7 separate regions of the Homo sapiens genome follow, and all the other regions are linked to region 4. The links are contacts of gene promoters, found by promoter capture Hi-C in blood cells and fetal thymus (Javierre and others, 2016). All regions are on one chromosome and are shown on one strand. The core of a region is centred on a gene start or on the middle of the fragment in contact, and the rest is flanking DNA. Distances in the headings are between cores, read along the strand shown. Region 1 holds the start of LOC105376436 (a long non-coding RNA gene). Region 2 holds the start of PLXDC2 (plexin domain containing 2). Region 3 overlaps ST8SIA6 (ST8 alpha-N-acetyl-neuraminide alpha-2,8-sialyltransferase 6). Region 4 holds the start of NSUN6 (NOP2/Sun RNA methyltransferase 6). Region 5 overlaps PLXDC2 (plexin domain containing 2). Region 6 overlaps PLXDC2 (plexin domain containing 2). Region 7 has its middle 47 kb from the start of ST8SIA6.

What was found. The method cuts DNA at HindIII sites, captures the fragments that hold promoters and counts their contacts. A CHiCAGO score of 5 or more calls a contact.
Region 1: a contact is called between a fragment that was not itself captured here and the fragment with the promoter of NSUN6 in region 4, in 1 of 17 cell types (naive CD4 T cells). The highest score is 6.4, in naive CD4 T cells.
Region 2: the fragment with the promoter of PLXDC2 here is called in contact with the fragment with the promoter of NSUN6 in region 4 in 1 of 17 cell types (monocytes); the score reaches 6.6 in monocytes.
Region 3: a fragment that was not itself captured here is called in contact with the fragment with the promoter of NSUN6 in region 4 in 5 of 17 cell types (non-activated CD4 T cells, total CD4 T cells, naive CD4 T cells and 2 more); the score reaches 17.6 in non-activated CD4 T cells.
Region 5: a contact is called between a fragment that was not itself captured here and the fragment with the promoter of NSUN6 in region 4, in 1 of 17 cell types (monocytes). The highest score is 8.7, in monocytes.
Region 6: a contact is called between a fragment that was not itself captured here and the fragment with the promoter of NSUN6 in region 4, in 1 of 17 cell types (M2 macrophages). The highest score is 5.2, in M2 macrophages.
Region 7: a contact is called between a fragment that was not itself captured here and the fragment with the promoter of NSUN6 in region 4, in 1 of 17 cell types (total CD4 T cells). The highest score is 5.3, in total CD4 T cells.

Annotation. Positions count from the first base shown.
Region 1 is chr10:17,435,726-17,439,838 of GRCh38, forward strand. The region is part of intron 2 of ST8SIA6 (ST8 alpha-N-acetyl-neuraminide alpha-2,8-sialyltransferase 6); the gene reads right to left. LOC105376436 (a long non-coding RNA gene) reads left to right here and starts at 1,565. Exons shown (of 4, transcript XR_007062074.1): 1 at 1,565-1,595. The HindIII fragment of the contact is 4,359 bases long and covers 1-3,948 here.
Region 2 is chr10:19,814,868-19,818,623 of GRCh38, forward strand. It overlaps PLXDC2 (plexin domain containing 2), which reads left to right and starts at 1,565. Exons shown (of 14, transcript NM_032812.9): 1 at 1,565-2,324. The coding sequence starts at 2,213. It overlaps LOC124902388 (a long non-coding RNA gene), which reads right to left and starts at 1,361. Exons shown (of 2, transcript XR_007062078.1): 1 at 1-1,361. RefSeq lists an enhancer at 489-1,254. The HindIII fragment of the contact is 8,470 bases long and covers 1-2,614 here.
Region 3 is chr10:17,414,483-17,418,550 of GRCh38, forward strand. The region is part of intron 2 of ST8SIA6 (ST8 alpha-N-acetyl-neuraminide alpha-2,8-sialyltransferase 6); the gene reads right to left. Among named protein-coding and RNA genes, the nearest start is that of ST8SIA6-AS1, 30 kb to the left of the region's middle. The HindIII fragment of the contact is 1,519 bases long and covers 1,095-2,613 here.
Region 4 is chr10:18,649,324-18,653,282 of GRCh38, forward strand. It overlaps NSUN6 (NOP2/Sun RNA methyltransferase 6), which reads right to left and starts at 2,264. Exons shown (of 11, transcript NM_182543.5): 1 at 1,806-2,264. The coding sequence starts at 1,880. RefSeq lists an enhancer at 2,404-2,503. The HindIII fragment of the contact is 3,002 bases long and covers 1,642-3,959 here.
Region 5 is chr10:20,004,078-20,007,974 of GRCh38, forward strand. All of the region lies in intron 2 of PLXDC2 (plexin domain containing 2), which reads left to right. Among named protein-coding and RNA genes, the nearest start is that of PLXDC2, 190 kb to the left of the region's middle. RefSeq lists an enhancer at 1-33. The HindIII fragment of the contact is 2,536 bases long and covers 1,043-3,578 here.
Region 6 is chr10:19,833,442-19,837,482 of GRCh38, forward strand. All of the region lies in intron 1 of PLXDC2 (plexin domain containing 2), which reads left to right. Among named protein-coding and RNA genes, the nearest start is that of PLXDC2, 19 kb to the left of the region's middle. The HindIII fragment of the contact is 2,656 bases long and covers 1,145-3,800 here.
Region 7 is chr10:17,499,547-17,503,301 of GRCh38, forward strand. No RefSeq gene overlaps it. Among named protein-coding and RNA genes, the nearest start is that of ST8SIA6, 47 kb to the left of the region's middle. The HindIII fragment of the contact is 8,012 bases long and covers 1-3,755 here.

The DNA.
Region 1 (4,113 bases), core at 519-3,018, 1.2 Mb before region 4:
GCAGGCAATACAAGAAATCTGAATATTAATGGAGAATTTTGCCCATTGTGTCTGTGTCTCACCTCAAGATATTTTTTATAACAATGTGGATTCCCTAACGAGACTTCTTAAAAGTTGATGCACTTCAAAAAGTTACATCCTCTCATATCCCAACAACAAAATTACTTCTGTGAAAGTTGATTATGTGAATTGGGTGATTCTTGCCATACCCAAATAAATCAGAGTCTAGGGACCAGCGGAGGGAAAGCATTCCGCACATAGCACCTGTTTCAAAAATTATCCACAAACCCAGCTACTAAAACAATGTGCTGTAACCCTAAGATGAGTTTTACTTAGCAGCTGCTGGAATCACCTGCTGCGACTCTAAGACTAGTTTTACTTACCACTGTCACTCACCAGTCAGAGCTTGCCAGCTCCCAAAACCTTCTATCGTGCCAATGAGCTTTCTTTCAAAACAATACATAACACTTGTCTTACTGATAAAACTCCAATATTGTTTGGCTGTGTCCCCACCCACATCTCATCTTTAATTCCCACATGTTGTGGGAGGGTCCCTGGGGGGGAGGTAATTGAATCATGGGAGCAGGTCTTTCATGTGCTATTCTCATGCTAGTGAGTAAGTCTCACTAGATCTGATGGTTTGTTTTTGTTTTTGTTTTTTTATACTGTAAGTTTTAGGGTACATGTGCACAACGTGCAGGTTTGTTACATATGTATACATGTGCCATGTTGGTGTGCTGCACCCATTAACTTGTCATTTAGCATTAGGTATCTCTCCTAATGCTATCCCTCCCCCCTCCCCCCACCCCACAACAGTCCCTGGTGTGTGATGTTCCCCATCCTGTGTCCAAGTGTTCTCATTGTTCAATTCCCACCTATGAGTGAGAACATGCAGTGTTTGGTTTTTTGTCCTTGTGATAGTTTGCTGAGAATGATGGTTTCCAGCTTCATCCATGTCCCTACAAAGGACATGAACTCATCATTTTTTATGGCTGCATAGTATTCCATGGTGTATATGTGTCACATTTTCTTAATCCAGTCTATCATTGTTGGACATTTGGGTTGGTTCCAAGTCTTTGCTGTTGTGAATAGTATCTGATGGTTTTATAAAGGGTAGTTTTCCTGCACAAGCCCTCTTCCCTTGTCTGCCACCCTGTGAGATATGCCTTTTACCTTCCACCATGATTGTGAGGCCTTTCCAGCCACGTGCGACTGTGAATACATTAAACTTCTTTCTTTTGTAAATTGCTCAGTCTCGGGTACGTCTTTATCAGCAGCGTGAAAACTAACTAATACAAACTCCCAACCTTCTCTTTGTTCTTCAGGCATACCCAAGAACACTCCATCTGTGTGTATGCCCCAAATTGCAATTCTATGATTCCCAAATAAAACATTTCACTTACAGATTCATTTCTCTCTCTCTCTCTCTCATACGTATTTCACATATATTTGAGACAGGGTCTTGCTCTGTTGCCTCAGGCTGGAGTGCAGTGGCGCAATCACAGCTCAATGCAGCCTTGAACTCCTGGACTCAAGCAATTCTTCTGCCTCAACCTGCCAAGTAGTTGGGACTACACATGTGCCATCACACTCAGGTAATTTTATTTTATTTTTTAATTTTTAGTTTATAGAGACATGGTCTCACTATGTTGCTCAGGCTAGTCATGAACTCCTGGCCTCAAGAAATCCTCTTGGCTTGGCCTCCCAAAGTGCTGGGATTACAGGTGTAAGCCACCATGCCTGGACAATCTCTATATTTTATTTTGATTTCAGCATACTTGGTGTCAGAAGTGGGGTCTGAAGCAGACTCACCTTGGAGAGATCAACAACAGGCCCTGGAACTATGGCTTGTGGTACCCACATTCAGGCCCCTTGGACCCCCTGTTTCCTTCCTTCCTTCCTTCCTTCCTTCCTTCCTTCCTTCCTTCCTTCCTTCCTTCTGTCTCTCTTTCTCTTTCTCTTTCTCCCTTCCCTTCCTTCCCTTCCTTCCCTTCCCTCCCTTCCCTCCCTTTCTCTCTTTCTCTCTTCCTTTCTTTCTTCTGTCACCCAGGCTGGAGTGCAGTGGCCCAATCTTGGCTCACTGCAATCTCTGCCCCCTGGGTTCAGGCGATTCTTCTGCCTCAGCCTCCTGAGTAGCTGGGACTACAGGTGGGCACCACCATGCCCAGCTAATTTTTGTATTTTTAGTAGAGATGGGGTTTCACCATATTGGCCAGGCCGATCTCGAACTCCTGACTTCGTGATTCATCCACCTCAGCCTCCTAAAGTGCTGGGAATACAGGTGTGAGCCACCATGCCTGGCCATGCCCCCCTGTTTCTGTAGGTTGCCTCTTTTACTGCCTGTTGAGTCTCTCTTGGACTAAACTCTCTTTTTATTTTATTTTACTGAGCTTGATTTTATTTGGGAATTGGTTATGAGAGGTCTTTCCCTGTCCTGGTTATGAGATCTCCTGTTTAGAAAGGGTTTTTTCCCCTCCTGGTTACAGGGACTTTTCCCCACTGGAGAAGAGTTATCATCTTTCTTGATAAGTATGTACTTTAGACTCCAATTCATTTGCACACTTAAGAGTTTAATTTGGCTTTTGTGTATTCGGCATTAAACCGAATCACCTAGATAAATTTATTTACAAATGGGCTCTCAAAGTTCAAAGGCATGCCAATATAGCTCCTAGCTCTGGGACCCCAGCTGGTAACATATACAAACATTATGGAGATTATTCAAAGAGTCTGTTTTTCTGAAAACTAAACTAAAAAAAAAAAATGACACCTATAAAATCACACAGTCCAAATAGGACACATATCTCAATTGGTATCTGAAGGCTCCAAAACACATTCAGGACTCAAAGACTGCCTGTGAGCTAGCTGAGACTTTCCAGTCCAAAGCCTTTCCCTTCCCTTCCTACACCTCCTCCTCTTTATCTTTCTCTAAGCTAAGCTCTCTTTTTCCAAAACTCCTCAGCTATTCTGTCATACTGACTATTTAAGTAAAGACACTTGGAAACCAGAAGATAACAAAGAAAATCATTTTGACCTTTGCGGTATTTATTAAAAGCAAAAGATTAAATTCCCATGTAAAAGACACTTCCTCTGTACTAAAAGGAAAGGCAAACTCTCATCTTTGAGGAAAAGGGATTAAGACCAAGAGAATATTGCACAGACCTTGTTAGAATAACTCTTACCTTTTGAGCCTCTTCACATAATTCAGTCACATTTTCAGAGTTAACAATTCTTTTTCAATCCAGTGTGTTGGTCACTGACTCAGACTGCTTTACCCAAAATGTGCTTCACAGCCTCCATAAGATGACATATTATGGCAAATAAAAAACACAAACCACCTTCCAAACTACAGCTTTTTACAGTTTTACAGTTTCTACTTAATTTCAAGTTGAAAATGCTATCTTCTTCATTTAAAATGATAATTTCATTTCTTCCTCTTCCAGCTTTTCAGATTCATATCTCAAGTGTTTAGGTATTCAGCTTTTTACACATCTCACTACATGTGATTTACAGGTCATGCATTATTACTTTCTGTGCTTCTTCCCTCTCTTTTTTTTTTTTTTTTTTTGGAGTTGGGGATGGAGCCTCTCTCTGTCACCCAGACTGGAGTGCAGTGGTGCAATCTTGGCTCACTGCAACCTCCGCCTTCCATGTTCAAGTGATTCTTGTGCCTCAGCCTCCCAAGTAGCTGGAATTAGAGGCACCCACCATCACATCCTGCTAATTTTTGTATTTGTAGTAGAGGCAGGGTTTTGCCATGCTGGCCAGGCTGGTCTAAAACTCCTGACCTCAGGTGATCCACCCGCCTCGGCCTCAGCAAAGTGCTGGGATTACAGGCGTGAGCCACCATGTCCAGCATATGTTTAACTTTTTAAGAAACTGCCAAACTCTTTTCCAAAGTAGCTGCACTTGGACCTCCATGAATGTCTGATTTGGTGCCAGCAATCTCTAAGCTTCATCTCCCCACCGTGTCTGTCGCCTCCTGCACAATCCTAACAAGGCTCACTTTACCCCCACTTCCCACGTGTCAATTTAGAGACTCCCAGGCCAACGGCATGTGAAGAAGAGGAATCACTACAAGGCATGCTGAGGCTATCTCCCAGGAGGAAATGGCTC
Region 2 (3,756 bases), core at 315-2,814, 1.2 Mb after region 4:
AGGGAAACCTTTCTTGTTTCCCATGAGAGAGCCGTCCTTTGAGCATCACATTTGCAAAGGTAGATTGATTATCCGGATCCACTTCCAGTGGGTTTTGTGGCAAGCCGAGACATCTATTGACAGCATCCATAGACTCTTCAGAGCTTGGAGTGGAAAGGACCTTGAACTTAGAACACATGCACATTTATTATGTGATTGAAGTCGTCTTCTCTCACTTTTGCTTCAGTAAACACTTAAACAAAGCCATGTACTTTGCGGTAGGCAATGTTCTATATTTATTAAATATACAGTTAACTCATCCAATCCATTGCAACCACCTTATAAGGGCGTTACTCTAATTCTCTCCATTTGATGGATGGATAACTGAGGCTAGGAGATAAACTGCTCATTGCGGGGGAGGTGAAATTCCAGCCCAGGCTGTCCGGGCTCTAGATCCTGTACTTTTAACCAATAGCGCTTTGCTTCTTTTCCTTGTATTTATCCCTTTCAAAAATGATTAACTGTATGCAAAATAAGATATCAACTAACGAGAGGGCCGGCAAGGGTTAACGCGGAAACAGATCCCCGAGCTGAAAAAACAAAAACAAACTGGGGAGCCAGAGCCCCTGAAAGCTCCGGTAGGAAATTCAATGGGCCTCCTGTTCCTTTAAACTCTCGCTTTCGCCCCCGCTGACACTTTGCAAAGCCGCGGCGGCAGCGGCGGGGACCACGCTGCGGTGCACCACCTTCCGCCACCCTCCCGCGCTGGGCTGGGGTCGAGGGGGCTTCGCAGAGTCGGTAACCGAACCGGCTCTGGTTTGCTTTCTCCACTCCCTAGCCACTACCAGAACCAGCCTCCGCGAAGGGGCGAGCTGTGGTTAACCCTTTCGTGCCCAGGGAGACCCCGCCAGGGTCGGGGCGGGGCGCGATCGCCCCCCGCAGTCGGGCGCGAAGGCGGCCCGGGAGCCAGGTGGGTGTGGGGCGCAGTTGGCGGAGCTGCCCAGGGCGTGCGAGCAGGCTGCGAGGATGGCGCCCCGGCGGCGCGGAGGTACCGCCCCGCGCTCCCCCGATAGCTCCCCGGCCTGTCCCCTCTCCCCGCGCTCTGGGGCAGCCGGCTGCCTGGGGCGCACGGGGCTGGAGTGGCCCTCTCCCTCCCCTTCGCTAGGCTCCCCCGGCTTAATCTGTTGGCCGCGACTCCTCAGCCAGCCCCGAGGAAAGTGCAGCCATTGGACAGGTCTGTGCGGGCTGCCGGTTTCAGGGAGGAAGGTGGGAGAAGCCTGGAGGAGCGAAGGGGAGGGCGGAGGGAGGAGGGAGGAGGGTGCGGCGGCAGATCTGGCAAATTGCGAGCTGCCTTCCCTCCTCAAAGTGTGGAGAAGGAGCGCGGGGGAGCGTGGCGACGGCAGCGCCTCCTCCGCCACCAAACTCCTGGGGCTCCGCGGGGGCTTGGGGCCACCTCCTCCTGAGCCCGGAGGAACCCTCTCCCGATAGGTTCCAGCGTGACTCCCTCCCACTCCACCCTTTTCCTTTCTTCTTCCTCTTTTTTTTTTTTTTTTTTAAACACATTTTTTTCCTGGCTTCGGACCTCAGACTGCTGCAGCCCTAACCTTCCCAGGGCTCAGCTCTTTGGAGCTGCCCATTCCTCCGGCTGCGAGAAAGGACGCGCGCCCTGCGTCGGGCGAAGAAAAGAAGCAAAACTTGTCGGGAGGGTTTCGTCATCAACCTCCTTCCCGCAAACCTAAACCTCCTGCCGGGGCCATCCCTAGACAGAGGAAAGTTCCTGCAGAGCCGACCAGCCCTAGTGGATCTGGGGCAGGCAGCGGCGCTGGCTGTGGAATTAGATCTGTTTTGAACCCAGTGGAGCGCATCGCTGGGGCTCGGAAGTCACCGTCCGCGGGCACCGGGTTGGCGCTGCCCGAGTGGAACCGACAGTTTGCGAGCCTCGGCTGCAAGTGGCCTCTCCTCCCCGCGGTTGTTGTTCAGTGTCGGGTGAGGGCTGCGAGTGTGGCAAGTTGCAAAGAGAGCCTCAGAGGTCCGAAGAGCGCTGCGCTCCTACTCGCGTTCGCTTCTTCCTCTTCTCGGTTCCCTACTGTGAAATCGCAGCGACATTTACAAAGGCCTCCGGGTCCTACCGAGACCGATCCGCAGCGTTTGGCCCGGTCGTGCCTATTGCATCGGGAGCCCCCGAGCACCGGCGAAGGACTGGCGGGTGGGGTAGGGAGGTGGCGGCGGCGGCATGGCGAGGTTCCCGAAGGCCGACCTGGCCGCTGCAGGAGTTATGTTACTTTGCCACTTCTTCACGGACCAGTTTCAGTTCGCCGATGGGAAACCCGGAGACCAAATCCTTGGTAAGTAAGATGCACTTTAGCTTGCTGATTTTGTGCGCAGCTGAAGACCTCTCTGGCACTCTCGTGCTCCCTACCCTCTCCCCCCAACATCACCTATCTGCCCTTGGGAAACTTATTGCAGTTGCTTTTCGGCTAAACTTAGGCTTCCCAAATGGGGAAAGAGGGTTATCAAGAGAAGGACGCCGGGGACTAGGGGTTTTCTTGAGGCTTTCGGGCTTACTTCACCTGGGCGGCAGGGGGTGGTACTGTCTCCCCAAAGTAGCCCAGGGAGGGCTTCAGTGTGAGAGCAAAGCTTCTTCCGTGGATACATCTCCTAGGACCTGGCATCTCCAGGCTGTGTGCTCTCCGGCTCCTCCTCCTTCCTCGCTGCTGGTTAAACTAAGCGTGTGTGGTATGGGGTGGGTGGGGGACGTTGTGAAAGCCAGGGATTGCAGGTCTCCCCTCTGCACGAGAAAATTCCCTGTGGCAGCACCTTCCTTCCCCTGGCGATCCCCACTAGCTCCGTCTAGTGACCTGGGCCAAGCGGGCGCTGGAAGGGGGGCGGGGTAAATGCGGCCGGCGCAGAGGTGGGGAGCAGGTGGGAAAGGTGGAGGCGGGCTCGCCTCTGGAGACCTACCCCTGCTCCCATTGTCCTCCGCCTGCCAGCTTCACAGACAGGCCTGAACGCGCAGAGAGTTCCTTGGAGTGCCCTGATTTTGTCCCCGAGAGGGCCCCCAACCTCCGCATCCTCTTAGTGGCTGTCCTGGCAGGTGCGCGTCCTGCGGGGAGTTGCGCCCCGGGGGCTATCGCCGAGCGGGAGCTGCCTCCTGGAACCCTGCCCACCGCGAACTGGGTGCCTACTCCCCATTTCTGCCTTTCAGTGAAGAAAGTGAAGACACAGGCAGAAAGAGATCTTGGCAGAAATTGGTGAACTAGGGTGGACTTCGAGAGGAGGTGAAACGAGAGAAAAAGAAAAAAGAAAAAACTTGGAGGGAAAAGAAAAGAAAACGAAAACTTTCTCCCTAGGATAATCAATTTGTCAATTTGTTCTTTTCTGGTGTGTGTGTGTGTGTGTGTGTGTGTGTGTGTGTGTGTGTGTGTGTAATTTAAATGATTGCCCGGAAAGTATGCATGCGTCCTCAACAGTCAACTAGAGAGTCACAGATGGAAGGTTGGGGGACACCTGGGGATTCCAGGCAAGGTGAATCTTGAAGATCTTGAAGGAAACCCTTGAGTGAAATTTACCAAGCCGCGACTTAGAAGACAGTCACAACACTTCGCCTGTCCCTGGTGTAAACTGTTCTAGATAAAGCACAGATACTGACTCTGCGCTCTTATTTATGGTTGAAGGGGTGTGTGTGTTGGGGTGTATGTGCAGGGAGGCAATAGGATGACAACACTTTTAAAGCTGAGAACAAAATGCAGATTTCTTGGGTGTTGACTTGTCTTTGTC
Region 3 (4,068 bases), core at 604-3,103, 1.2 Mb before region 4:
AGTTTCTGTGCCTGTCTTAGTCAGCTTGGGCTGCCATAACAAAATACCATAAAATGAGTGGCTTAAACAACAGAAATTTTTCATCTCATATTTTGAAGACTCAAAATGTTGGCATCGTTGGTACCTGGTGAGGGCTCTCTTCCTGGCTTGCAGACAGCTGCCTGCTGGCTGGGTCCTCACATTGTCTTTTCTTGGTGCATGCATGAGGGAGAGAGTGCTAGTGTCTCTTCCTCTTCTTATAAAGACACCAGCCCTATCAAATTAAGGGGTAGCTCTATGACCTCATTTAAATAGAATTATCTCCCTAAAGACCTTATCTTCTAATATAGTCACATTTGAGACTGTGGCTTCAACATGAATTTTGGGGAGACAGAATTCAGTCCTTCAGAGTGCCTGTGTTTTTCATCTTACCATATGTTACAACAGAAAAAAATGTCCCTGCTCTCATCAAAAATCAGTAACCCCCAGTATGTTCTGGCTCCTGCCCGTCTCACTTTCTTAACATTACTGACCCCCTCATCTCTTCCTTCTCTTACATAACTAGGGTTATCCTTCTCACAAGCACACAAACACGCTCCTCCCTTGACTCCATAATCCCTCTCCATCTCCCAACTCATTTTTCTACCCCCTGTAAGCACCACTTCTCTAACAAATTATCTAAAATTACTGCTTCCCCTTCCTCAACAATCTATTCCCTCATCAGAAGACTTAAAACTGGCTAATGTAGCTTCTGGGACTCAGAAAATGAAAGCCCAAAATATGACACTTCAGACTTCAAACTGAGAGCACATGGAGAGCAGCAAATGCAGAGAAGGACTTTCCCCAAAGGTCCCTCCCTACCTAAACACAGGATTCTCCTAAGATACTCAATCATTGTCAATCGCTTCCCCAGGGTATCTCAATGACTGGGAGAAGACTGAAGCCTATCCCAGGAAAAGAAGACTAGAATTGATGACACACCAGGAGTCCAGATGGGCTTTGTCTCAGACTACCATCTGTTCTTCAGGCCCATTCATCTTCCCTAAAACTCATTTACTCCTCCTCTAAATTGTCTGCATCCCACCCTTCCCCCTCCCTGTGAAGAAGGGTATATAAGCTTCTAAATCCCATTGGGTCATTGGACACTCACCTTCCTGGAATGCACGCATACACATAATATATGTGTTAGCCTTTTCTCTCGTTAAGTGATCTGTTAGTTTATTTCTCAGACTCAAATATCAGACATGCAGAGTGGAAAGAAAGGGCTCTCTCACCCAACATGGCTCATCTCAAGCTCATCAAAAGCCCCCATGTTCCAAATTCAATGGACGCCTCACTTGTCTTTTTTTTTTTTTTTTTTTTTTTTGAGACAGAATCCTGCTCTGTCACCCAGGCTGGAGTGCAGTGGCATGATATCGGCTCACTGCAACCTCCACCTCCCAGGTTTATGCGATTCTCCTGCCTCAGCCTCCCGAGTAACTGGGATTACAGGTGCGCCACCGTGCTCAGCTAATTTTTTTATTTTTAGTAGAGACAGGGTTTCACCATGTTGCCCAGGCTGGTCTTGAACTCCTGACCTCAAGTGATCCACCGGCCTCAGCCTCCCAAAGGGCTGGGATTACAGAGGTGAGCCACTGTACTGGGCCGCACTTATCTTACTTGATCTTTCAAGAACACCTGACCCAGTCAACTGCTCCTCTTCCCTGAAAACCACATCACACTCTCCTGGTTTTCTTTCTGCATCCCTGGCTGCTCCCTCTGCCTCTCCTTTGCTGGCTTCTGCTTCTCTTTCAAGCCTCTAAATGTGGGAATACCCTAGAACTTGCTCCTAGATCCCCTTTTCTTCTCCACCTATCTCCAGAGCTAAGTGAGCTCATTCTACTCTCTGGCTTTGAGTCCTATCTCTCTGGCGATGACACCCAGATTGATATGTGCAGTTCTGACCTCTCCCTTGAGCTCCAGACTCATTTATATGGTCGAAATGCCCATCTGACATTTCCAATTGGACGTCTAATAGTCTTGTCAAATGTAGCATATCCAAAACATAACCTTTGACTTCCCTCTTTTCCAGTCTTCCCCATCTCTATGGATGGTAATGAACTGCTCAAGCCAAACATTTATCATTCGGATTCCTGTCCTTCTCTTCTCTCCTATACCCGGGCTTTTGACGATTCAGCCGTAAATCCATCTACTTCTCTTTATCGGTACTTCTATTGCCTCATTCAAGGCACATCAGCTCTTGTCTGGATGGAAGCCATGGCCCCATAAGTAGTCTTTCTGCTTCAATTGCCTGACTGCCACACATTCTCTATGCAGCTATCAGAGTACTCTTTTAAAAACTTAAATCATACTTGTCATACATGACATATTGTCATGCCCTTGCTCAGAACCCTTCTGAGGCTTCACTTATTATTAGAATAAAACTCATCCTCACCAAGGCTTGCATCCTACAACATAACCTGACTTAGTAGGTCTATTTCCTCCTTTGCTCTCTGTATTGGTCCATTTACATTGCTGTAAATAAATGCCTGAGACTGGGTAGTTCATCAGGAAAAGAGGTTTATTTGGCTCACAGTTCTGCAGGCTGTACACAAAGCATCGTGCCAGCATCTGCTTCTGGTGAGGGATTCAGGAAGCTTATAATCATGGCGGGATGTAAAGGAGAGCCAGCACATCACATGGATAGAGAGAGAGAGAGAGGAGACAGTGCCAGGCTTTTTGAAACAACCAGATCTTGTGTGAACTCAGAGAATAAGAACTCACTCATTACTGCCGAGACATTCATGAGGGATCTGCCCCCATGACCCAAACACCTCTCACTAGGCCCACTTCTAACACTGAAGCTCACATTTCAACATGAGATTTGGAGGGGACAACCATCCAAACCCTATCACCCTCCATGATCCATTCTTTCTGCTTCTCAAATATGCCATGTTTAGGGCTGCTGTTCCTCTGCCTTGAGCGTTCCTGTTAGTGCTTCAGGTCTTAACTCGAATGTCAACCCCTCAGAGTGACTTTTGCTACTCCCTATGGAATGCTCACCTCCCACCCCCGCCATCAGCATTTATTTCGACTTCTTTCCTACCACTTAGCACAGTGAGCTCCAGGAGGGCAGGCTTTTGTCTGGCATGCTCCCTGCACATTCTCCAGCACCAAGCACAGACCTGGCACACAATGAATGTTCACTGAAAGAATGAAGTTGATCTCAGACTCTCCACCCAGCTCCAGGCTGCCAAAATAAGCCCCTAATTGCCTTCCCTGCTTCTCCTTTTGTTCCTGCCCCATCTGTCTCCTAGGGAGAATTGTCTCAGCTAGACCAGTCCTGGGCTCTTCACACATCAGAGTTAGAGAGTTGACAGGGAATTAATAGAAGATAGAACCTGAAAGGCTTAGGAGGGGTAAGACTTGGAGAAATCTGTTGTCAGTCAAAAATAATAAAGTACAGAGGTGTATGTGAGGAGGTAGGGGAGGGAGTACAGGAAGGGGAAAGAAATCTATATAGTCCAGGTGTAAGTGAGAAAGTTCTTTCAGCATTTGTCAAACTTGAGTTTGGGAGAGGGTGTGGGAAATAAATAACTGAGAAGAGTAAATGGGATTGCAGCATAGATGAGGATTCTGAATTAGGGCCACTCTGTCACCCAGGCTGGAGTACAGTAGTGCGATCAAAGCTCACTGCAGCCTGGAGCTCCTGGTCTCAAGCAATCCTCCCACCTCAGCCTTCCAAGTAGCTGGGACTACAGGCATGTGCCACCAAACTCAGCTAATTTTTTTTTGCATTTTTTTGCAGATATGGGGTCTTGCTTTGTTCCGGCTGGTCTCAAGCTCCTGAGCTCAAGTGATTCTCCCAAAGTGCTGGGATTACAGGCATGTGCCACCATGTGCAGCCTGGAGCCCTTTTTATGTACTTTAAGAAGAAGGAAAATAAGGACACAAATTTTTTTTCTGGCATGTTGAGTTGTGCTTCCTGAAATACCAGCCTGGGCTGAATGCCATGGGCCTGTGATTTCAACAAGGTTACATACATATGAGAAAACTGAAGCTCTGAGTGTTCATAGGACATGACCACTGTCATTCAGTTGATAGATGACA
Region 4 (3,959 bases), core at 1,014-3,513:
CCCTGCTTTACAGAATCTTCACAAACCACTTGTTAGCCTACTCATGCACCAGCCTTAAAAGTATTCATACTTTCTCAAGGTTTAGTCTTATCAAAACTGAACATTCAGCCTGGGCAACATGGTGAAACCCCATCACTACAAACAATACAAATATTATTAGCCAGAGTGGTGGCCCCTGTCTGAGGTCCCAGCTACTCGGGAGGCTGAGGTGAGAGGATCACTTGAGTCCCAGAGGTCGAAGCAGCAGTGAGCTGTGATCATGTCACTGCACTCCAACATGGGCAACAGAGGGAGACCCTGTCTCAAAAAAAAAAAAAAAAGGCATAAAACTTAATATTCCTTTCCCTTCAGTACTTTTCACAAAGGCATAGCTTTTCATTTTGTAAAACCATACCACTGATGAGACTCGAGGCAGAGGCAGTGTCAAAGAAAGACGTTTGGATCTTCTTTATAAAACGACGTTCTCCATTTTAAAATCTGCTGAAAAAATTGTGGTATGCCCCTACTTCTCCTAATATGTGCCTTATATTTTAAGTCCCTTGAAATCAACAGAATATATTTTCTCTTTCCATACAGTCTAGTACCTCAAGCTAATCTTTGGAAATGAAACGTAGAAATCAAATCTAAAAGGCATGGCTTCAATAACATATTCAAAAATGAGTAACATTTAAGTGGTGTTACTCTAACTAAGAAAACTAAAGATTTCAAAAAAAACAAAGTTGCTTAGAGGCAACATGGTAAAGTGGTAGAGAGGACAGGCTTTGCAATAAAAGACAATCAACATTTACTGAGGACTTCTGTGGCAGGCACTGCCAATTGCAAACAAAATTAACATTTTTTGAAGACTTACATGCCAAAACAATGCAAGTTGTTTTCATTTACGTTTAATATCCTAAAACAACCTGGTAAAATATTTTTAACTTGACTAAAAAATTAAAGATTTGAAAAAAAACAAAGTTGCTTAGAGGCAGCATGGTAAAATGGAATAGACAACAGGCTTTGCAATCAAAGATAATCAACATTTACTGAGGACTTTAGCAAATAAAATTAACATTTTTTGAGGACTTACATGCCAAAACAATGCTAGTTGTATTCACTTACGTTTAATATCCTAAAACAACCTGGCAAGATATTTTTAACCATTCTCAATTTTTCACAGAAGAGAAAAATCTAGGTTAAGCCACGTAATTTACAAAGCACTAGAATGCAAATCATGTGCCTGAGATTCAAAAGCTGTACCTTTGTTCATTACACCTGAACTCTTTCCCTCCAGATTTCAATAGTTACTTGATAGCTGTGTCAACTTGGATCAGTTACACAATTCCTTGAGCAGTTTTCTGCTCAAGTCTATTAAAAGAGGAAAAACCTCTAAGAAAAAAAAGATTGTGAAGATTAAAGATGCAAATCTCCTAGCACAACTGCTGGCATTTAAGAGGCACTCAACAAATTACAGAAACCTTTTCACCTGAGTGCCAGAGCCAGCGCTCTTTTAAAATTCGATTCGAGTTCTTGAAGACAGGGACCTTTTCTTGTTCATCCTTGTAACCCTTTGTGCCATGCCTGACAGGCACATGCCTTTTTTCCCTTCTTTTCCACTCCTAAATGTTAAAACATATACCTTATTCACTTCGTATCTCAGTAAGCTTTAATACCTGTAGAAACATATTGGTATTTTTACACTTGATAGACAAGTAGTAAGGAACGACGGCTGTCAAGATTTCCCTTTATACTTATTTCTATTTCTCTCGAGTGTGCGAATATTTGAGTTTTTGCAAAATATCAACTAACATCTTTACTTGACCTACCTCCTTATTCATAAAGCCTTCCTTAAGATAGTTTTCAACCTCAGGTCTCAAAGATATCTTAGGGAAAATAGACATTTTTCCTGTTGTTTAGTTCTCCACCAAGAGAAATGCTGGAAAACGGTGTTTTGTTTTTTTTTTTCTTTCCGAATTAATAGTGACGAGTGTCTTGACACCAGATGCTGAGGAAAATCTTGCCGATCACGCTGAGTTAATTTCGGAAATGCAGAGGTACACGCTTTCTCAAGCCTAGCCGATTAGAAGGGGCTGCCGGGCTTCCACCACACCTCATCGAGGCAATGTTTTCTGGTAGAGATGCTCATGGAAATCACTGAGCCAATGCCACTCACGTTGCAAAGAACCAAAAAAAGAAAAAAATGCTTAGTAACTGAATCCGTGGTGAAACGGACGCAGATCAGTAAGCCAGGCTGACAGCAGCTCGGTCCCTTTATCTTTTCTATCAATTTCCAAACACGCGCCCCCTATTTCTCGGCGGAAAGTCGCTTCCGGCTTACGTCACGTCCGGCGCCTGCGGCCCACCCCTCCCTTTCCGGTCCCCCAATCCACAGCCGCAAGTTTCCCCAACACTGCGTTACGCTACGCCACGCCCCCGGAGGTTCCTAACCCTGCGTGAGGCTCTTTCACCTGCCTCAGGTTAAGTAGGCAGACCCCGCGGGCGGGATGGTCAAAGATATTTAGTTCCCGGTACCGGAGGGCTAGGTGCCAGGGGCAATGGGGAAACAGCCAAATGGCGTGGGTTGAGTGGAAGATGTTGCTGGACTGAAAAAAGGCACAGCCCAGTTGCTGTCCTGCCAGATGTCCTCCAGTTAGAGGATGAGGCCAGAATTTGGGCGCATCAGCCACCGTTTGATTTCATGACATGATTTTACCTCTCTCAGGCATACAGATCTGACTTCAGTTGTGAAGTTCATAGGGTTCATATTTTTGAAAGTTGGGCTAATGGTCTGTTAATATCCAATGCTCAGGTAAAACTTAAAACCCACAGACAGTGTTTACAGTTAGTTATAAGGCTAACTGCTACTTGTATCATAGTTGACATATTCTTTAGAGTTTGGAAGACCCTCGCCATTATTTTTTTTTCTTTTTTTTCATCATAAGCAGACAAGGATATAGATTCAAAGAACGAGGATATCTAACCAAACTCACTGAGTCATTTTATAACTGTACAGGAAAGTCAAAATAATTCTATCACCTTGACATATGTTTTTTGCAGCACACCATGGTAATTTACACATAAGTATAGGAAAGGGTTTTTTATTGTTTTTTTCTCTTTAATTTTCACACCGAATTATACACACAGACACACACACATAGAACAGGTACTTTCCATGACACACCAACTCTTTACCAGAAAGAGTAGAAAATAATGAATGACCATTATACCACACAACAACCTGCAAGTTGTTTATCATTTTCTCTGCTCTTTTTTTTTTTTTTTTTTTGAGTCTCTGTCGCCCAGACTGGAGTGGAATGGTGGGATCTCGACTCACTGCAACCTCCACCTCCTGGTTCAAGAGATTCTCCTGCCTTGGCCTCCCGAGTAGCTAAAATTACAGGCATGTGCCACCAGGCCCAGCTAATCTTTGTAATTTTAATAGAGACGGGGTTTCACCATGCTGGCCAGGCTGGTCTCAAACTCCTGACTTCAACTGATCTGACTCTCTAGCCTCCCAAAGTGCTGGGATTACAGGCGTGAGCCACCACGCCCAGCCCATTTTCTCTGTTTTAAAGAGTAAATCAAGGTTCCTAGGGTTGAAACAACTCTCCATGTTCTCACAAATAAAAAGCCAGGATAAAGACTAGTAATTTGGCTTCTAGAGCCAATACCTTGTCCTTGACCATAGCATATTTCTTCAATAAATCCATGAGATTCTTTCATGGCTAAAACATCTGAAAGTGATAAATGTCTAAATCAGACATTTCCAAAGGAATTTCTGTAGCCTGAATTTCATGGTGACCATAGCACCACTGATGGCTAGAATCTGTATTTTAGCGATAAAGGAGGAGAAACAAGTTGAACTACATTTTAAACTCCACAAGGATAGAGACTTTATCACACCACTATGTACCCAAGCCTAATCCATAATGGGCACTCAAATACTTACTGAATGACTAAATGAAAAGATGGATGAACAT
Region 5 (3,897 bases), core at 1,061-3,560, 1.4 Mb after region 4:
TTAAGAAAAAAAACTCAGTTTCCTGAAGCAGATATTACCTAGTCCTGCAAATAGTATCAAGGCATCATTTTGTTCCCTCACAGTGAGAGAAATCTTCAAAAGATCTGAAGTATAGGCTGTGGGAATTCAGTATATTTGAAAAATACAGCAATTTCTCAAACCCCACTCCATGGCATTAGCTATTATGTGGCCATGGTGTTGGCAGGCTGCCCCAGGCAGGTCGCTTACCAGGCAACGGTTGATGTGTCAGGAGCAGAAGTCTTATGATATCTATAAGAGGCTATTCTGACTCCTGCAGAGTGGCCTGCTATTTTGGCAATGATGATGTTATAGCAACTTGGGGTAGGCAACATAATTCTTCCCTGAGCCACTCTTTAGCTGGGGTGCAGCATCAAGAAAGGAGAACTGAATAGAAGCAGAGGCGTTTACTCTCTGCCCAGAACTAGGACTCGATGGATATTGAAAGGGAAAAACACATCCCTATTCGGCTAAAAGCCCAGACTTTGCCACGACAAAATGCAAAAAATCTGCACCCCCTAAGTATGTAAAGACTTTTAAATTTCTTCGAAAAAGGAAAGAGGAGAACACAGATTCCAAGAACTCTGTAATCTCTCCTGTGGGGTGCTGAATTTTCTTAATCATTTATAAAATAAGAAATCTCTTTGATTGGGGGTATATTAACACTCCTGAAAATACAATCCCGGTGGTTACTGTAGCTGTAATTTTGTGATTCAGCCAATTTTTCTACTTTCTACCTTAACAGAGGGAGACCACAAAGTGTCAGGTTTGAATCAGTAAAAAGAGGGCAGAAGGATGGCCCAGGGGACTGTTTGGTGGGTACTCACCCAGGGCTAAGAGCTGCCAGGTACTGTGTGGATGCTCTTTTGTTTGGTCCACAGCAGCCTTGAAAGATTTGTGTCCCTGTGTTTTCTGGGCAATTTCAATGATTTTTTTACACGAGGGCAATTTCAGAGTTAGGTTTTAGTATTTTCCTAAGGTCTCCCATTAATGAGCATTCAAACCCTGCTGGTATTCAAATGCAAGCTTTGCCAGGCTTACAGGGTTGATCCTCTAGGCTTGACGTTGCTCTTTCTAGCAAAAGGAAAGACAAATGACACTTGAATTATGTAGTGATTTTGAACAGCAGCAGCCCATGAGTATCCATAGGAGGGTAATTGTGGGGTTTCAGTCTGGCTCATAAAAGACTTGTTTTGAATCCAGGGTTGCATACTAAGAACACTGCTTTTATTTCAAGATTCATTTATTTTGTTGGGGTTCTGGGGATTGATGGAGATTATTGGGATCTAAAGTCCTCAAGTAGCTCCTTGGCACTGCCACTAGTTGCGGAAACAAAAATCTACCTCTGAAAGTTTGGAAAGTGTACTAGGCCATTTTTGCCTTCCTATAAAGAAATACCGAGACTGGGTAATTCATAAAGAGAAGAGGTTGATTTAGCTCACGGTTCTGTAGGCCCTACAGGAAGCATGGCTCCAGCATCTGCTTGGCTTCTGGTGTGGCCTCAGGAAGGTTTCAACCATGGCAGGAGGTGAAGTGGGAGCAGGCGTGTCACATGATGAGAGCAGGAACAAGAGAGAGTGAGGGGCATGGTGCTGCACATTTTCAAACAACCAGATCTCTCCTCAACGCACTCATCACCAAGGGAATGGCACTAAGCCATTCATGAGGGATCTGCCCCTGTGATTCAGACACCTCCCACCAGGCCCCACCTCCAACACTGGGATTACATTTCCAAATGAGATTCGGAAGGGACAAATACACAAACCATATCAGAAAGTTTTACGTATCCTGGCTCTTGAAATGGTATTTGTGGGCCAGGCGCAGTGGCTCACACCTGTAATCCCAGCACTTTGGTAGGCTGAAGTGCGCAGATCACCTGAAGTCAGTAGTTTGAGATCAGCGTGGCCAACAAGGTGAAACGTCATCTCTACTAAAAATACAAAAATTAGCTGGCGAGTGTCTGTAATCCCAGCTACTCAGGAGGGTGAGGATGAGAATTGCATGAGCACGGGAGTGTAGGTTGCAGCCAGCTGAGATTCCACCACTGTACTCCAACCTGGGCAACAGAGCGAGACTCAGTCTAAGAAAAAAAAAAGGTAAAAAAGGCATTTGTGAACACGGTTGCATCTCTTTTGGGGAAAATAGTTTTGCCCCATTGTTAAACAGAAATAAGAAAGAAACCAAATGGTTATAAAGTGAATACTCTGTGCCTGGCATTGTTACAAGGTCTTGCTTATCTTTTTGGTTTATATTGCTAAATACAAACAATGAGCTAGAAAGACTCTGTGTGCTTTTTTCCTTTAGACGCTTTCAAACTCAGTTTCAGGGGTCAGAATTATTTTGTCTCGTAGCCCTGACTGCAGTAGTGGCTGTTAAAATTATGTGTATCACAGTGAGACAAAAACCACCCAGAATGGTATTCCTCAGATGTTCTCCTCATTTTTTTTCATTGTCTCGACTTTATGTTCTACTTTAACTTAAATAAAACAACAACAACAACAAAAATCCCAAACCAACACAAGACAATAGCATGTTTACTGTTTTGACACAAAGGCTGTTATTCTCTTCACTTGGTACTTGGTGACAGTATTTTTTCTGGCTCTTCACAAGAACAGATAATGGAAGGATTGTAAAACTTGGTAGCCCAGTTAAAGAATTCTTCCAGTTAAGGTTTTGTTGTTGTTATTGTTTTCATTGTCTAATATTCTTCCCATGAGCATATAAAATCTCTAGAAGCCAACTGTATATCCTGTTGAATAAGCAGGGGCCCAACAGATGGCAAATGCCGCTATTGATCTGAATGTTGATTTCTGTGAGACCTTTCTTCTTGTATTTCCTCTGTTCATTCATACGGACGTATAACCACTTAGCCAGGTGAGAAGTAAAGTACCTTCTGCTGAAGTGTAGGTATTAAAAATGAGGTGTCGGGAAATAGTCACTGCATGTGCTACTTTGTATAATTATTTTGGGAATATAAAGGCTTACAGGGCTTTCAGGCAGGATTGGATTCCATTCATGATTTGGCCTTGTTGGAGCAGCCTTCACTGAATTCCACAACTCAGGGACATATGTGTAAATGAGCAGGGCAAGCATCTTCCCCTGGAAGCTGGCACCTTCCCATTATCTGGCATGAAGCTCTCATAGCAATGATAGCACCTCATAGGATGGAGAGTGCTTTGACAGTGTTGGCTGAAATTACTGATGCTTAATAAAGCTCAGTTTCATCAGCCTATTGCTGTAGAATAGTGTTGGTCACTTATAGTGTTCTTCACTTTATAGAAATCAGTCTCAAAGTCCTTTGTGACATGCTAGACCAGATATGTGGTTTTGAACACTTATTCACATGCAATATTTGGAAGTGTCCTATTTCCACTCTTGGGACATTGAAAGTGTTTATTAAAAGGACTGTACTGTGTGATTTTTTGCCTTGACTCAAAAGCCACTGGATGACTGAAGAAGGGAGGTTTTAAAAATAGGTATTATGGATCATATTAGTACAGTTTCATGATAAAAGTGACTCAGAGATTGGGAGCTAGGCCAATGCCTCTGAAACTTTAACAAGCTTACAAATCACCTGGGAATCTGGTTAAAATGCATATTCTGATTTCTTAGTTCTAGGCTTGAGCCGGTCTGATATTCTGTTTCTAATAAGGTCTCAGGTGATATAGTTGTGGGTAGGCCATAGGCCACACTTTGGGTTGCAAGGATTTAGCTATTAGTTTTGAGAGCAGAAATCTTAGCTTAAATTTAGGTGCCTGCCAACAGTATGTTTCATGGAATTCTCATTCTGGTACCTAATTAAAAATGTCAGTTGTATCCAGCAACTGTTGTATTATTCATGTGCATGGAAGTTCATATCTGAGGAAAGTACAGTCAAGA
Region 6 (4,041 bases), core at 1,223-3,722, 1.2 Mb after region 4:
GATAGCCTAGGGCCAGATCTGGATGTGGAAAACATTATTCCAATAAAAGGTGCGTTAAAAGAACACTCAAGGAGTTTATTTTTTAACAAACTCATGTTGTGTAAAATGAGATGAGGGTCTCAGAAACAGTTTTCTTTTCTTGGCATGGGCTGAGGACACTAAGCGAAATTCTGCCGCGTCATCTACTTTGAAGCAAGAAAATACTTTGACCTTATTAATGTACTTGTTTCTAGGGATAAATAAACCACCTTAGGAGATTACACAATTCCCTTGGATGATAAGTTAACTTTTTTTGGATAATGATGCTCTGTGTATAAAGGAATCCAAAATGCTACCTGTGTGTTAGTGAATTAATCGAAAAGGTAAGCAATCTATGTGTAAGAAAAAGACACCTGTTCTAAGATTGCATCAATGAATAGAAGATAAGAAATGTCAAAATAAAAAATGCATACAAATCTTTAAAAAGCATTCAGAGTTCAGAGTTTCCTGGGCATTTCATATTTTGCTTTTTTTTTTTTTTTCTCCAGAACTGTATGGAGGCCTTTAGTGTTTTGGTTGAGTCTAGCCCTAAACATATGGGCAATAGAAGTGGACGTCTTCATGGTGTTATTTGAAAGCAATGGAACCAGTCCTTGTTCCTGCATGAACTTGCAGGTTGTCATTAACTTACAGAGTCATTTATTTGGGTTTAGTTAATATATCTTGGAAAATGTGAAATATTGCAAGGAGGAGGAATGGTCATCCATATCTTCTGCATTTGAAACCTAGAACAGGTGTGCTAAAAAGACAGGTATAGTGTCCAGGTTTCAATGGACTGGGAAAGGAAGCCTTTGGCAAGGCCCCTGGTTAGATCAAGAACAGCACAAAATCACAGAGAAAGAGAGAGGTAGAGAGAGAGAGAGAGAGAGAGAGAGTGTGTGTGTGTCTGTGTGTGTCTGTGAAGAGACAGGGGTTAACAAAGGCAAAGGGACAGATATACCAAAAAGGGGCTGAGAGAAAACTGCTCAAGAAAGAGGTTGGGGTCTCTGAGGACCGAATCAATATCCCATTTGCTACACTATCTGTATACCACCTATGCCACCATTTCAATACACATCTGGCAATAGACTGTTTGTTAATATTATCAGACATTAGTAACTTTTCAAGCTTCCCAAATTATCTAATTGGATTAGCCTATAAACTAAACAAAATTGGCTCAAGATGTAATTGTTTCGAAAGGACTGAGATGACTGAATTAAAGTGACATTAATATGCTGTTAGGTTGGGGTTGATAGTGAGGTTTAGCTCTGAGAAGAATTATTTATTCACTATACAAACATTTGCTAGATGTATCCTATGCGCCTAGCATTGTGATGTGAAGGGATACAAAATACAGCCTTTGCCAGGTAGAGGTTACCATGAAGTAAAAAGGACAATTGTAAGAAAATGTGATGTGTGTATATATGTGTGTGAGAGAGAGAGTGGGTGCATTCACTATGGCATTGAGAAATGGGAGCATAGGTCTTAGCCTAGAGAGTCAGGGAAGGCTTCCTAGGGAGGTATGTCTGGGTCTGCATTTGAAGTGTGAGTGGCAGGAGGGCAGAGATGATGGAAAGGCATCCTGAACAGAGAGAACAATCCTGGGGCAGAGAACTGTGAAATCTTCAGGGAACTGCCCTTGCCTGTTGGGCAAGAGCAGGCACAAGATTAGGAAGGGCCTTGCACACCTAGCCGGGTGTTGAATTCTCCCATGAAGTTGACAGTTGGCCCAAAGTGCTGAAATTTCAGACTTGAGCCACCGCACCCAGACAGGTTTTTTATCAGCTGAGTGACAAACTCAGATGGGCTCTTCAAAGGGTCTCTCTAGTGTGGAGAGCAGCTAGGAAGGGCAGGTCTAGAGATAGACCAAATTCAGCACTACTGGATCAATAAAGATGGAATGTGATGCAGGCTTCAGATAAGAGGAGGATAGCTAAGATAATTCTCATGTTTTCCAGGTGCTTTAGGGAATAGAAACATGAGCTCAACCTTAGACTTGGCGAGTACTGAGGTGCTCATGGGACATACCAGTGAAGACAGCAACTCTCCCAGGACTGGGGCTCAGCAGGGAGGGCTCAGATGAGTTCAGGATGTCAAATCATCGAGGTGTATCTGGTGGTGATGGGAACCAGCCAGTGAGCAGGAATAATCAGAGAAGAGCAGAGGGTCAAGGTCAGAGTCCTAGAGAGCTGGTCTGGGAAGGGGAAACTGAGGAATGGGCCCCCAGGCGGGAGATATAGGAGGAGCCACCTAGAGTGAGAGGCAGATTAGGAAAAGCATCACTAGGACAGATCAGGGAATTCAATAAGAGTGGTTTTGGTGGAGGAATGGTGGCTAGCTGGTGGCAGATTGTGGTAGGGTAGTGATGAAGATCAGAGAAGGATGCAGTAAGGTGGATGACGTGCCAGCCTTTTAAAAAGCATGGCTGGGATCTGGGTGTGGTGGCTCACAGCCATAATTTCAGCACTTTGGGGGGCTGACATGGGAGGATCGCTTGAGCCCAGCAGTTTGAGACCAGCCTGGGCAACAAAGTGAGACCCCATCTCTACAAAAATAAAAATAAAAAAATTAGCAGGATGTGGTGGTGCACATCTGTGGTCCCAGCTACACTGGAAGCTGAGGTGGAAGGATTTCTTGAGCCCAAGAGGTTGAGGCTGCAGTGAGCCAAGATTGGTCCACCGCACTCCAGCCTGGGCAACAGAGTGAGACCCTGTCTGAAAAGAAAACAAAAAAAAGAGTATGGTTGGGAAGTAAATGACAGAGAGGGAGTGGCCAGAGGGGAACATAAGAGAAGAGAGGGTTTTTTGCCGGCAAAGGAGATTTGAGCTCATTTATAGGCATGGGGGAAGACAATCAGTAGGTGCATAAGTGAGTTGAGAATCTATACTAGCAATACAGGAAACCATGTTAGGATCACTGTCTCAACAAAAATGATCACAGCCTTCCAAAAATGCAACTTGACTTTAAAAAGGCTTTCTTTTATCACTTGCAAGAATATTGCTGTGACACCTAATAAAAATTTAATTAAGGCTTAGATGATATCACGTTTTATGTAACCTGAAGTCCTTAAATCCATGAAATCACTCAAATAGAATCAAGTTTGTTGGAAAGAGAATCTCATCTTAAGAAGTGGCAGCAGGAAAAATGAGTAAGTTCCATTTTATTTTATCAGTGAAGTCTGGGGCTACGAAATGGTTCTAACAGCATAAAGAAATAACAGCTGCATTCAAGACCAGGATATGTAAAATAATTTGTTTAGTTTCAGCCACTTTTTAAAGTCAATTTTACACCCTGAAAGAAAGGCAATCCTGACTCCATTGTTCTTTCGCCAATAAGGAGATCGGGAATTACAATAATAAATAGAAGAAAGAATGTTGTTTTTCCTCACTGTAATTAATTTTATGGCTCTTGCGAAGATGAATTTTTGTGGTGATTAAAATAGTCCCTTGCACATATTAGGTACTCAGTAAGCATTTGTGAAATAGGGACTTTCTAGCCTTTATTTGTGTTTAAGGAATCAGGGAATAAGTTCAAAATTGCCTTTCAAGAAATTTTTGGAACTCTCTTCTCACTAAGAAACTGTAAAGTCTTATAAAAGAGACATTATTTATTTTCTCCAAGTATTGCTTGCGAGGTGAATTGAAGGTTTTTTTTTTATCAACAGTTGTTTTATAAGATTGTTTGAGGACTAAAAGGGCTGATTGTAATCACCTGTAACATGTTACCCAGCAAGACATTCCTCACCAGGTTGAAGTAAAAAAAAGAAATGAAGTGAAATATCAAGCTTATGCAAGTTTGAAATTACAAACAAGAACAAAAGTTAAAACACATAAGCCCTTCTTATCAGTAGGTTATCTTTCAGGATAGATCATACGGTTGTTTCTCTTAGTAATTGCAACATTGCTCTGTTTTCTCATTGAGTAAGTGAGAGAGAGAGAGAGAGAGAGAGAGTGTGTGTGTGTGTGTGTGTGTGTGTGTGTGTGTGTATGTGTGTGTTGGTGGGCAGGCAGAGACAAATAAATG
Region 7 (3,755 bases), core at 727-3,226, 1.2 Mb before region 4:
AAGTGTGTCTGTGTGTATCTATAGTCTTTCTGTGAGCTACAGAATGAGAGTAAGACTCCTCCTTGTCTATTTTGACCTCCCACTGTACCCTGACCAGGACCTGCTGTAACAAATTTCTTCTCTTTCTAGTCTACGCCTTTGTATCTCATTTACCTCTTTCTCCACATGATGCTTGAGGCACCATACCGACTCCACTTTTCTCAGTTTATTAAAATCTACTGGGCATGGTGGCTCACACCTATAATCCCAGCATTTTGGGAGGCTAAGGCAGGAGGATCACTGGAGGCCAGGAGTTCGAGACCAGCCTAGGCAACACAATGAGACCCTGTCTCTACAAAAAAAAAAAAAAAAATTTTTTTTAATTAGCCAGGCATGGCGGCACGCACCTGTAGTCCCAACTACTTGGGAAGAGGCTGAGGTGGGAGAATTACTTGAGCCCAGGAGATCAGGGCTACAGTGAGCTATGATTGCACCATTGCACTCCAACCTGGGTGACAGAGTGAGAACCTGTCTCTGAAGAAAAAAAGAAAAATCTGGCCAGGCACGGTGGCTCACATCTGTAATCCCAGCACTTTGGGAGGCTGAGGTGGGTGGATCACTTGAGGTCAGGAGTTCAAGACCAGCCTGGCCAACATGGCGAAACCCTGTCTCTACTAAAAATACAAAAATTAGTCAAGTGTGGTGGCATGCGCCTGTAATCCCAGTTACTCAGGAGGCTGAGGCACGAGAATCGCTTGAACCTGGGAAGCGGGGGTTGCAGTGAGCCAAGACTGCACCATGGCACTCCAGCCTGGGCAACAGAGTGAGACCCTGTCTCAAAAAAAGAAAAAAGAAAAATCTACACAAATGTGCTCCTTCTATTACTAAAACCAGGATCAAATGACTAATTTTATTTGACTGTATGTGATAACTGCTTTCAAATTCATGACCATCATTCACTCTGCTTCTCCTTAGGAAATTTTTGTCTCATGGGTGACATATGTTTTGTAGGAGTTTGTGTTTTCCTTTTTGCTTTGGCTTCCTGGATGCTCAGGGTCAAACTTGTAACCCAATTTAGTAACTCCAATGGCCTTATGCCTTGCATTGCTGCATAATATGTTATTTCTTCTTCTTTTATTTATTTTTTTTTTGAGACAGAGTCTTGCTTTGTCACCGAGGCTGGAGTGCAATGGGCTCAATCTCAGCTCACTGCAACCTCCACCTCCCAGGTTCAAGCGATTCTCCGCCTCAGCCTCCTGAATAGCTGGGATTACAGGTGCACACCACCACGCCTGGTAATTTTTGTATTTTTAGTAGAGACAGGGTTTCTCTGTGTTGGTCAGGCTGGTCTCGAATTCCTGACCTCATGATCCGCCTGCCTTGGCCTCCCAAAGTGCTGGGATTACAGGCATGAGCCACCACGCCCGGCCCATAATATTTTCTAGTTTGTTTTATCTTGCTAATGAATGTAAATTTTTCTCTGGCCTTGATTTTTTAAATTACTCTCATATTATATATAGCTTTTAGACCCTCATCAAAATTTTTGTAGAGTAAATGAAAGTATACACATATGTATACATATAAATGCATATTATTTATATGTGTAAACTTATACATATAAATAAGTCCTTCAGTTATAGAATGCTGTTGAGAAAATCAGAGGTATTTTTAGGAGGGTACAACTAAGACAAAAGATTAATGCCTCTTTAGGAAAATACGCCTGAAATAAAATAACATCATGCCTAATAATTATCCTCTAGTTATTTTCCTGCAGCCTTACCACACTAATCCATCTATCGTCTTGAAATTATCTGTCTTAAACACAGATTAAATCACATTACTTATATAATTTACATAATCATAGTACTTACATAATTATCTGTCTGAAACAAAGATTTAATCATATTACTTTTCTGCTCTGGAACCTTAGATGACACGATTACAGAATAAGGGCTGAATTCCTAGGCATGGCATTCAAAATCCTTATAAGATACCACCCTCTTGGCTCGGCGTGGTGGCTGACGGCTGTAATCTCAGCACTTTGGGAGGCTGAGGTGGGCAGATCTCCTGAGATCAGGAGCCTGGCCAACATGGTGAAACCCCATCTCTACTAAAAATACAAAAAATTAGCCAGATGTGGTGGCGGGCACCTGTAATCCCAGCTACTCAGGAGGCTGAGGCAGGAGAATTGCTTGGACCCGGGAGGCAGAGGTTGCAATGAGCCGAGATCACACCATTGCACTCCAGCCTGGGCAACAAGAGTGAAACTCTGCCTCAAAAAAAAAAAAGATTCCATCCTCTTACCTGTTAAGCCTTTGCTCTCTTCCTAGATCTAACGTATTCTCCTCGCAAAAAAATTTGGACTACGTGTTTCTGGACATGACCTGCCCTTTTTTCTCCATCTTTGAGACTTTTCTTCCTCCCCTTTTTCCAAAGCCCACAGAAAATACCTCTTGCCTTCCTTCCTTCTGACCTGACATACTTCCCAGCCTGGGTTAATTTTAAGAACATCAACATGTTAATGATCCTCTTAATGAACATATGATTTTAGAACAACATAACAAACTGGTGTTCTCTTTTGTATTGACATTGAAAACCTTTTGTATCATCACTTCTTCCCAAGCTCACCTCAAGAAGTCTATCTTTTAGCCCAACATGTTCTCCCTTCTGTGACTGGTGCTTATTCTCTAACATATTTGGAAGCAATAGACCTTAATAATTGAGAGGTGTGGCTGTGAAGTTAACTCAACTTGGGTTCAGCCCACTTACTTCACCTCATCTGCAAAATAAGATGATAACACAGAAAACTTTAAAATACATCCATAAATTATTTGACAACGCTCTCATGAAGAGGCAGAGTCTGTGTGCCCTCCTCTTGAAACTAGGTACACTTGTGGCTTGTTTGTAAACAATGAAATGCAGGAGAAACGACACTCGGTAACTTCTAAGACTAAGCAAAAAAAAAAAAAGTTACGCAGCTTCTTCCCTGTTCACTGAGATATTCACTTGTGGAGGCTTAAACTAGCATTTAAGAAGTCCAATTACTCTGAGGCCACCAGGCTATGAGGAAAGCTAGGTCATACAAAAAGGCCCTTGGCTAAATGTCTGGTAGGAAGCCTCAACTGAATTCCCAGCCAACAGCCAGCATCCATTGCTAAGCATGTGACTGAAGACCTGTCCAGGTGATGCCAGCCCTCAATTGTGAAGTTCCCACTTGTTCATTGAGTCTTCCCAGTTGAGGACCAGCCTTCATGGAGCAGAGACGAGCCATTTCTGTTTTGCTCTGTCCAAATTCCTGAGCTACAGCCTGCAAGAACATAATAAAAGAGTTTCTTTAAGCTACTAACTTTGGGGATAACTTGTTATGTAGCAAAAATAATCAGAACAGAAATTTCACACCTAGAAATAGAGTGCTACTATACCAAAAATCTAAAGCATGAGGCGTTGACTTTGAAACCACTGTCTAGCAGCAGCTGAACGGGCTTTGAGGAGACTGTTATCATCTTAGGCTGGAGAAGGCTGTTGGTGGGGACTTGCAGACAAGCAAGGAAAATGTCATTAGAAGCTGGAGGAAAGCAAAATCATTTTGCCTAGTGGTGAAAGTCTGGCCACACTGTCACATGTGGTAATGTGAAAAAAACAGAAAATGTTGGATGAAAAATGTGGTACATATACACCCTGAATACTACTCAGTCATTAAAAGGAATGAAATCATGTCTTTTGAAGAAACTTGGATGGAGCTGGAGGCCCTTATTCTATGGAAGTAACTCAGGAGT